Regions from separate parts of the Homo sapiens genome. Here regions 1 and 3 are each linked to region 2. Evidence: promoter capture Hi-C in human tissues and cell types (Jung and others, 2019). All regions are on one chromosome and are shown on one strand. The core of a region is centred on a gene start or on the middle of the fragment in contact, and the rest is flanking DNA. Distances in the headings are between cores, read along the strand shown.

Region 1 (3,098 bases), core at 477-2,976, 280 kb after region 2:
TAACTTCATGTAATATCTTATTTTAATATTTTATAAATAGCTTTTAAAAAAGTGAGTATAGTCTCACTGAGAATATGTGTCAGGAAGAACCAAAAAGCTCAATTCTCTCCCCTGGTCAACTGCCTGAATTTTCTTTTTTTCTTCATATCCAATGTTTTCATACAGAATATTCAGGATGGATATTTTAACCTTGGCCAATACATTTAAGGAAAATAAAAAATGTTTTAGGGGTTTTTTTTGTTATTTGTTTGTTTGGAGATGGAGCCTTGCTCTGTCACCCAGGCTGGAGTGCCGTGGTGCGATCTCTGCTCACTGCAACCTTTGCCTCCCAGGCCCAAGCAACTCTCCCACCCCAGCCTCTCTCAAGTAGCTGGAACCAGAGGCATGCGACACCACGCCTGACCAATTTCTGCATTTTTATTTTTATTTTTTTTGAGATGGAATTTTGTTCCCAGGCTGGAGTGCAGTGGCGCGATCTTGGCTCACTGCACCCTCTGCCTCCCAGGTTCAAGTGATTCTCCTGCCTTAGCCTCCCGAGCAGCTGGGACCAGAGGCACCCACCACCATGCCCAGCCAATTTTTGCATTCCTAGTAGAGACGGGGCTTCACCATGCTGGCCACGCTAGTCTTGAACTCCTAACCCCAGGCGATCCACCCGCCCTGGCCTTCCAGAGCACTGGGACCAAAGGCACGAGCCACGGCACCTGACCCAGTAAAAAAATGGCCAAGAAATGTTCTGGATAGCAAAGGGATGGATAGAAACTCAGGACTAAAAAGCTGGTGTGAATAAATATCCTAAAAAAAAAATTTAAAGGGTTCTCCCAAATGGCTCATTACTTAGAACACTGTTCTGCAAACAGGGCCACACGATTATTAGAAACTATCATTGTTATTATATGGAACAAACTTTGAACATCTATGATATGGGCAGATTTGTTTATTTGAAAACATCTACATTCTTCTAATGTAAATGTCGAAGTCACAAGTTTCTAGGCCATCCTTTTGTTTTAATCTGAAGATTAACCTGTCTTTACATCTGAAGTTTTAAAACACAAAAAGGCTCAGTACTGACTGCATACATGGGTAAAAGGTTTTTCATCCACAAAAACAACCTGCCAACCATCCCCAGACTCAGCCCTTTCCCTCTTAGGTACAGCCTGCATTAGAGTCCTGAAAGCACAGCAATACTGCCAAGAGGCACGTTTTATTTTTTTAAATAGTTTCCACACATGGCATTGAAGACATTTCAAATGGTATTTATTTATTGAGACAGAGTCTTGCTGTGTTGCCCAGGCTACAGTGCAGTGGCATGATCTCAGCTTATGCCTGGCTAATTTTTTTTTTTTTTTAGTAGAGACGGGGTTTCACTATGTTGGCCAAGCTGGTCTTGAACTCCTGACCTTGTGATCTGCCTGCCTTGGCCTCCTAAAGTGCTGGGATTACAGGTATGAGCTACTGCGCCCGGCCCTTCAAATGTTATTTAAAATTCTTAGTTCCTAAACACACATCAATTTGAGGAGGCCCAGCTTAAACTGAAAAGCTTATAACAGATAATACTTTCCAACTGTTCACGTGCATACTTTCATAAAAAAAGGAACAATAATTAAAGTCTACCATATCACTATTATACTTTAGCTTGTCTGTAGCTTCCAATCCTCTGTACAAAACTAAGCATCAAAGAATAATATTGAAGAAACAAAGTCTCTGCACCTGAAGGTAAACAGCATTTTTATGCTGTTAAAAAGAAATTACAAACGTTTTCTTCCCTGTAAGATGAGGATCACAAAAGTATCAGTGCATGTATGTCTGCATCAATTAGAACACTACCTGCAAGGGGGCATGAGGGAACTTTTTGAAGCAATGGTGAACTTTGGTGGTGGTTATACTACTGAATACACAGTTGTCACAGACTTGTACACTTAAAATAGGTGAACTGTACTACATGTAAATTATACCTCAATAATGCTGATTGAAAAACTACAAGTGAAAATGGGAAATAGTAAAACTAGGGCATAGCAGTGCTACAAAGAAATTAACATCTTCAGACAACAACATTTCAATAGTCTTTATCCTGGCAGCATTTGAATTAACCATTAAAAAAAAATGATGGGTACATGCCTGTAATCCCAGCACTTTGAGAGGCCAAGGCGAGAGGATTGCTTGAGTCCAGGAGTTTGAGACCAGCCTGGGCAACATGGTGAGACCCCCATATCTACAAAAAAATTACCTGGGCATGGTGGCGCGTGCCTGTGGTTCCAGCTACTTGGGAGGCTGAGGTGGGAGGATCGCTTGAGCCCAGGAGGCAGAGGTTGCAGTAAGCCAAGATCACACCACTGCACTCCAGCCTGGGTGACAGAGAGATATCTAGTTTCAAAAACAAACAAACAACAACAAAAAAGGCCAGGCACAGTGGCTCAGAGCGCCTATAATCCCAACACTTTGGGAGGCCAAGACAGGCGGATCACCTGAGGTCAGGAGTTTGAGACCAGCCTGGCCAAAATGGTGAAACCCCATCTCCAATAAAAACACAAAAATTAGCCAGGTGTGGTGGCGGGTGCCTGTAATCCCAGCTACTTGGGAGGCTGAGGCAGGAGAATCGCTTGAACCTGGGAGGCGGAGGTTGCAGTGAGCCAAGATTACATCACTGCACTCCAGCCTGGATGACAGAGCAAGACACTGTCTCAAAAAAAAAAAAAAAAATGTAGAAAGTAGAAGGAAGGAGGGGAAGAGTGAAGGATGCTCTTCTCAGACATATTATTTCTGCCTTCTCTCACTTGGAATATGTAATTCAGGAAAGGTCATGAAAGAGAATTTCACCTTTACACTAAAATGGAAATAATGCAATCCAAAAGAAGAGAAAACGGGACTTCACAATCTTCAAGTGCTTCAGAGGTGCATTTACCATGTATGCAGATTCACGTACTCTAACTGGAAGGTACTATGACATACTAATTTTAAAACATTTTAATTTTTTTTTTTTCAGACAGAGTCTTGCTCTGTTGCCCAGGCTGGAGTGTTGTGGTACAATCTCAGCCCACTGCAACCTCCGCCTCCCGGGTTCAAGCAATTCTCCTGCCTCAGTCTCCCAAGTAGCTGGG
Region 2 (3,104 bases), core at 125-2,624:
ACATGCTCTAGTATATCCTTCCTGTTCTGTTCTTGACTGCACATCATACGCTTCAGCTACCATCTATTTCTGCAGTCTCTTTTACAGCTAAAATTTTCAGCAAAAGTTCTTACTTTCACTGTCTCTTCCCCTCAAATATCATTTCCCTTTTTCATCCCACTCCAATCTGGTTTCCCTCCTCCCCACCCTCCCAAAACTCCCTCTGTCAAGGTCACCAGTAAGTTCCATGTTGCTAAATCTAACAGACACTCTGCATTTAAGTTGCTCAGCCTGTCAATAGCATTTGGCACAGTTGGCCATTGCTTGCTCGATACACTACCCCTTCTCAAATTCCAAGATACCACATTCTTCCTCTATACAACCTCTAAACACTGAAATATTCCAAGGTTGAGTCTTAAGCTTTCTTTCACTTCTCCATCGACATTCTCTCCTTAGCTGAGTTCATCCACTCCCGTAGCTTTAAATACCACCTATTGCTAATGTCTCCAAAATTTTCATCTCTAACCCTGACCTCTCCTCTGAGGTCCAGACCCATATATCCAACTGCCTACTAGGTACCTTACACTTGGATGTCTAATAGACATTTTATTATTTATTTATTTTATTTATTATTATTATTTTTGAGATGGAGTCTCGCTCTGTCGCCCAGGCTGCAGTGCAGTGGTGCGATCTCGGCTAACTGCAACCTCCGCCTCCCGGGTTCAAGCGATTCTCCTGCCTCAGCCTCCCGAGTAGCTGGGATTATAGACTTGAACCACCACGCCGGGCTAATTTTTGTATTTTAGTAGAGACGGGGTTTCACCATGTTGGCCACGCTCAGGTGATCCACCCGCCTCCGCCTCCCAAAGTGCTGGGATTACAGCGGTCAGCCACCGCCCCCCGCAGTTCTGTCACCTGCGGCAGGGTCCCCTGTTAACCTTGTTTCTCCTTCCCTACTTCACACTCCCCTCTTCTCTCTCAATTCCTCGGGCTCTGCCCCACACCCTCCCGTTACTTCAGTTCCTCCACCTCCACCTCCCTCTAACCTTCTGCCTCAAGTTATCCCCCCGCCCCCCAGCCTCAGGTACCGCTTCTCTGTGGTTCCCTCGCCTCTATCTCAGGTTCCCCGCCTTCCACTTCAGTTTTCTTTCCACAGCTTCTGACCCTACGTTCCCAGTCCACACCCTCCCGGCCAGACCCTACCCGGCTGCTCCAGCGTCAGCGCCCCCAGGCGGCGAATGCCTTCCTCGTCCAGCTCCCATTGCTCCGCCATCCCCGCCCGCCGCTCACCTGCCACCGCCCGCGAGACCACCCGGCGCACGCCAGGCCCCGCCCACTGCCCCGCCCCCCGCGCGCGCGCCGCCGCGACCCCGGGAACCGTTATTGGCCGGGTCACAAGCCCGCCCGCCCGCTGCTGGAGCCGCGACCATGGTACGGAGCCCGCTCTGGCGGGGGCGCCAAAAGCACCAAAGCGGCGAATGGGGGCCGCTGTGGCCAAGGATTGGGGCTAAGTGGTTCGAGACCTGGCTCTGGGGCATGGGAGAGAGCGAGGGGCCCCCAGCCGGGAAGGATTTGGGGGGCTGGCTCTGAGGAGTTAGAATAACGCTCTGTCTTGAGGGATGAAGTGTTCTGGCTCTGAGGATGTGGGGGACTCCGGTTCTGAGGGCTGGGCGTGTGCCCCTTTGACGGGGTGGTCTTCATATCTCAGCGCTGGGGGATGCTGACTTTGGGGCAAGGCGAGGGTGTGTGTGAAGGGGAGATCCAAATCTGAAGGATTGGAGCGTGGGGACAGAACTCTAAGGCATGATGGGGAGCTCCAGATCTGAAAGGTTGGGAATCCTGGCTCTGAGGAGTTGGGGTCCTGTCTTTAGAGCATGAGGAAGTTCTAGCTCTAGAAATTGACTTGGACGGGCTGGGCGCGGTGTCTCACGCCTGTAATCCCAGCACTTTGGGAGCCCGAGGTGGGCGGATCACCTGAGGTCAAGAGTTCAAGACCAGCCTGGCCAACATGGTGAAACCCCATCTCTACTAAAAATACAAAAATTAGCCGGGTGTGGTGGCACGGCCTGTAGTCCCAGCTACTCGGGAGGCTGAGGCAGGAGAATCGCTTGAACCCGGGAGGTGGAGGTTGCAGTGAACCGAGATTGCACCACTGCACTCCAGCCTGGGCGACCTGAGTGACAGAGCCAGACCTTGTCTCAAAAAAAAAAAAAAAAAAAAGGTAAGAAATTTACTTGGACGGAGCTTCTTCGGGGGAGAAGGATCAGCGTGGGAAAGAGAGAAGCTCTTTGTAATGGGGTGGGGATGACTGCTTTAGGGCTACCCCGTTTCCTGAAGTCAGTCCGGCAAGAAGCCTTTTGTCTTTCAAGCACCACAGGTTCCCCTAAGCTTGCCTGTGACTGAGGGCTGTCGCCAGGCTGCGATAGCTCTGCACTAACCAGCCCCTGAGTAGTCTTTGGGAAAGAACAGCCGCATCCCTAACCCCTACCCTCACTCCAGCAGGCACTTAAGAGCCCACCTGTGGATGGGACATGTATGTAAGAAGGAGCCAGGACCCTCTTGTCACACCCTATCCTTAACAAGAAAAGAGGGTGGGCTGGGCGTGGTGGCTCACGTCTGTAATCCCAGCACTTTGGGAGGCCGAAGCATGTGGATCACGAGGTCAGGAGATCGAGACCATCCTGGCTAACACAGTGAAACCCCATCTCTACTAAAAATACAAAAATAAAACAAAATAAAATAAAATAAAATAAAATAAAGCCGGGCGTGGTGGCGGGCGCCTGTAGTCCCAGCTACTTGAGGAGGCTGGAGGCTGAGGCAGGAGAATGGCGTAAACCCGGGAGGTGGAGCTTGCAGTGAGCCAAAATCGTGCCACTGCACTCCAGCCTGGGCTAGAGAGCGAGACTCCGTCTCAAAAAAAAAAAAAAAGAAAAAAAGAAAAAAAGAAAAAAAAGAAAGAAAGAAAAGAGGAACTGAGACCAGAACTGGGGCTCACCTTCGAGAAGTAGGTTTTCTTTGGCATCCAACATCTGCACACTCTGAGCACCCCCATTGAGCTCTCAGCCACCTTTAAGGAGAACAGAAAGCAGAATCAAGGGTCCTTCCTTGCATATTTATGCTTTCTG
Region 3 (3,258 bases), core at 132-2,631, 360 kb before region 2:
AGAAGATTCTGCAGTGTTTCATCTTGGAACAGTATTTCTTTTTTCTTTTGAGACAAGGTCTTGCACTGTTGCCCAGGCTGGAGTGCAGTAGCACAATCATAGCTTACTATAGTTGTGAACTCCTAGGTTCATGTGATCCTTTCACCTCAGCCTCCCAGGTAGCTAGGACTACAACAAGCGCATGCCACCACATCTGGCTATTTTTTAATATATATATTTTTTAATAGAGATGACATCTCGCCGTGTTGCCCAGGCTACTCTCAAACTCCTGGCCTCAAGTGATCTTCCCACCTCGGCCTCCTGAAATGCTGGGGTTACAGGCATGCATGAGCCACCATGCCTGGCCTCGAGCCCTATTTCATTTGTGCTTTTCTGGCAGAGAACTTGTTACTTCCTTATTTGAAAGTAGCCTTCGCACCACTGCACTCCAGCTTGGGCAACAGAGCGAGACTCCATCTCAAAAAAAAAAGAAAGTAGCCTCAGCTGAGTGTCCTCTCCAGTAATAACCAGTGTAATGTTTGCTATTCTAGGAGCCATGTCTGACCAGGACGTTTGGAAGATCATATCCATGCCAGAGGCTCTTGTGAGGAGATGAGTTGGTAAAGAGAGAGGCTGGGATGAAGATGCTGCCAGGAGTGGGCGTGTTTGGGACTGGCAGCTCCGCCCGAGTTCTGGTCCCACTGCTGAGGGCAGAAGGGTTCACTGTTGAGGCCCTGTGGGGGAAGACTGAGGAGGAGGCGAAGCAGCTTGCTGAGGAGATGAACATCGCCTTCTACACCAGCCGGACTGATGACATCTTGCTGCATCAAGATGTGGATCTGGTGTGCATCAGCATCCCCCCTCCACTCACCCGGCAGATATCCGTGAAGGCTCTAGGTACGCCCGGCAGGCCACAGCAGGGGCAGATCATGTCTCTCCCTCTGGGCAGTCCTCTGAGGGTCACTCCTCTCCTCTGAGCTCTCCTTCCTGGGCTCGCATCTGCAGGGAGGAGAACTCTGGGACATCACTTGTCCCTGAAGCAGTGCTTGGGGAGGGCATGAAAAAAGACATAGCCTAACCTACCTCCCATCTGTAAATCCCTGAACAGAAATTAAGGAAATACTCTAAGAGACAGCCATCAAGGGGCTGGAGATGGTTGCATCTCAGTCAACATAAAGTTTGCCTCTGTGAAGTTAGAGGTCAGAGCCCTGGGTGGCGGGGAATTGGTTGTGACTAGTGTGTTTGTTCTCCCATTTCTGGGGCACACAGCACCACAGGAAGGAGAGGCTGTGTAGCAAGGCTACCATTTCCCATGTTTTGTCAGCGTTTGACTATAGTGAGCACACACCCTTCCTGCCAAACTGCAGTCTTGTATTGCCGGAGGACAGGAAGGCTCTGCCAGCATTGGGCTTCCCTGACAGGATCCGTCGACAGCCTGCTTACATGACATCTCCACTCCCTTGGGAAGTTTTGGGCTTGGTAACCTCTTGCCCCTGACTGGGCATGGCCTGCTGAGCTGTTCTCCTACAGTTCCCGTTGGTCTTCTATTTCCAGTCAACTGGAGTCAACTTCTTCTCTTTATCTAATATAAATCAGAACCTAGTTTACTAAGTAAACAAACCAGTAAACATTCAGCCAGCAATTTTTATTTTATTTTGAGACAGAGTTTCCCTCTTGTTGCCCAGGCTGGAGTTCAATGGCGCAATCCCGGCTCACTGCAACCTTCGCCTCCCAGGTTCAAGTGATTCTCCTGCCTCAGCCTCCCAAGTAGCTGGGATTACAGGTGCCTGCCACCACACCCAGCTAATTTTTGTATTTTTAGTAGAGACAGGGTTTCACCACATTGGCCAGGCTGGTCTCGAACTCCTGACCTCAGGTGATCCATCCGCCTCGGCCTCCCAAAGTGCTGGGATTACAGGTGTGAGCCACCATGCCCAGCATTTTTTTAAAATTATTATTATTATTTTATTTTATTTTTTTAGATGGAGTCTCACTCTGTTGCCCAGGCTGGAGTGTGCATTGGTGCAATCTCAGCTCACTGCAACCTCCACCTCCCAGGTTCAAGCGATACTCCTGCCTCGGCTTTGCAAGTAGCCAGGACTACAGGCATGTGCCACCACGCCCAGCTAATTTTTGTCTTTTTAGTACAGATGGGGTTTTGTTATGTTGGCCAGGCTGGTCTCGGGCTCCTGACCTCAGGTGATCCACCTGCCTTGGCCGCCTCCCAAAGTGCTGGGATTACAGGCAGGAGCCACCACACCCAGCCTCAATTATTTTTTTAATGCCTCCTGTGTGCCAGTCACTGTCCTGATGTCATTTTGGACATTCAAAGCTGTGTTAGATTGGACCCCTCCCTGTCTTCAGATTTTATAGTCCAATTGAGGCAACTAGAAATAACACACATTACAAGGTAGATGACAGAAGACATAGTCACAATTCAACTAGCACATACTTACTTGACTGAGTAACTGTTTTATGTGAGGTAATAGGAGCCAAGTGTCTCCTTGATGCAGCCGAAGATCTCTAGGTCGAGGAACCGGTGCCATGAGGTTGTCCTCCACTCTTCCTGACCACTGCCATGGTGGCAAACCTCAGGGTCTGCTACTTATCTCCTCCCTCATTCTGAGGAATGTCATAGGAAGGTGTCTGTCACCTCTGGCTCAGTGGGTAGGGAAGGATAAATGTTCTTTGAAGTGAGAAAGAACTTCAGTCTGTCCGGTTGTCAATTTGGAGCAAGTAAGTTTTGGCCTTATTGTTTGTTTCTTCCAGAGAGCTCTCTCTGAGGATGTGTGACATTGGAGTTATTCATTCATTGGTCACCAAATGCTTGGGAGGTCAGATGGTGGCTCCCAGATTGAATTCAGAAATAGACCTAAGTCAACACTTTAGCAGCAAGTTGGTTCAAGGGGAAGCAAGCCGCTATTGGTCACTTGACTCCTTGCCATCCCTTGTGGCTTGAATGCAGGCTGGAAAGGTGAGGTGTGTCCGGAGCCAGAACTCTGGAGGCTCTCAGTCTTCTTCCTGAATTTTAGGGTTCCCCACAGAGACCATTTCCAAGCTATACGGGAAGAAAGAGGAAACCCCAGGGTTCTTTGGCAACAAGCTTGCTTTTTTTCTGGTTCTTGGTATGCTCCACCAGCAGCAGCATCACCTGGGAGCTTGTTAGAAACTGAATTCTCAGCTGGGCAACATAGTGGGATCCCGTCTCTACAAAAAAGTTTAAAAATTAGCCAGGCATGGTGGCACGCGACTGTGGTCCCAGCTACTTGGGAGGCTGAG

Evidence for each region. Contacts are between HindIII fragments. The study calls those that stand out against the background at their distance.
Region 1: a fragment that was not itself captured here is called in contact with the fragment with the promoter of KCTD19 in region 2 in 2 of the 25 tissues and cell types used here (dorsolateral prefrontal cortex and mesenchymal stem cells).
Region 3: a fragment that was not itself captured here is called in contact with the fragment with the promoter of KCTD19 in region 2 in 1 of the 25 tissues and cell types used here (dorsolateral prefrontal cortex).

The regions. Positions count from the first base shown.
Region 1 is chr16:67,045,399-67,048,496 of GRCh38, reverse strand. The region is part of intron 3 of CBFB (core-binding factor subunit beta); the gene reads right to left. Among named protein-coding and RNA genes, the nearest start is that of CBFB, 18 kb to the right of the region's middle. The HindIII fragment of the contact is 7,078 bases long and covers 1-3,098 here.
Region 2 is chr16:67,325,011-67,328,114 of GRCh38, reverse strand. KCTD19 (potassium channel tetramerization domain containing 19) reads left to right here and starts at 1,374. Exons shown (of 16, transcript NM_001100915.3): 1 at 1,374-1,410. The coding sequence starts at 1,408. LRRC36 (leucine rich repeat containing 36) reads right to left here and starts at 1,300. Exons shown (of 14, transcript NM_018296.6): 1 at 1,183-1,300. The coding sequence starts at 1,252. RefSeq lists a silencer at 1,258-1,407. The HindIII fragment of the contact is 4,520 bases long and covers 1-3,104 here.
Region 3 is chr16:67,683,075-67,686,332 of GRCh38, reverse strand. GFOD2 (Gfo/Idh/MocA-like oxidoreductase domain containing 2) reads left to right here. Exons shown (of 3, transcript NM_030819.4): 2 at 531-876. The coding sequence starts at 618. Among named protein-coding and RNA genes, the nearest start is that of C16orf86, 18 kb to the right of the region's middle. RefSeq lists enhancers at 512-571, 1,618-2,817. The HindIII fragment of the contact is 6,447 bases long and covers 1-3,258 here.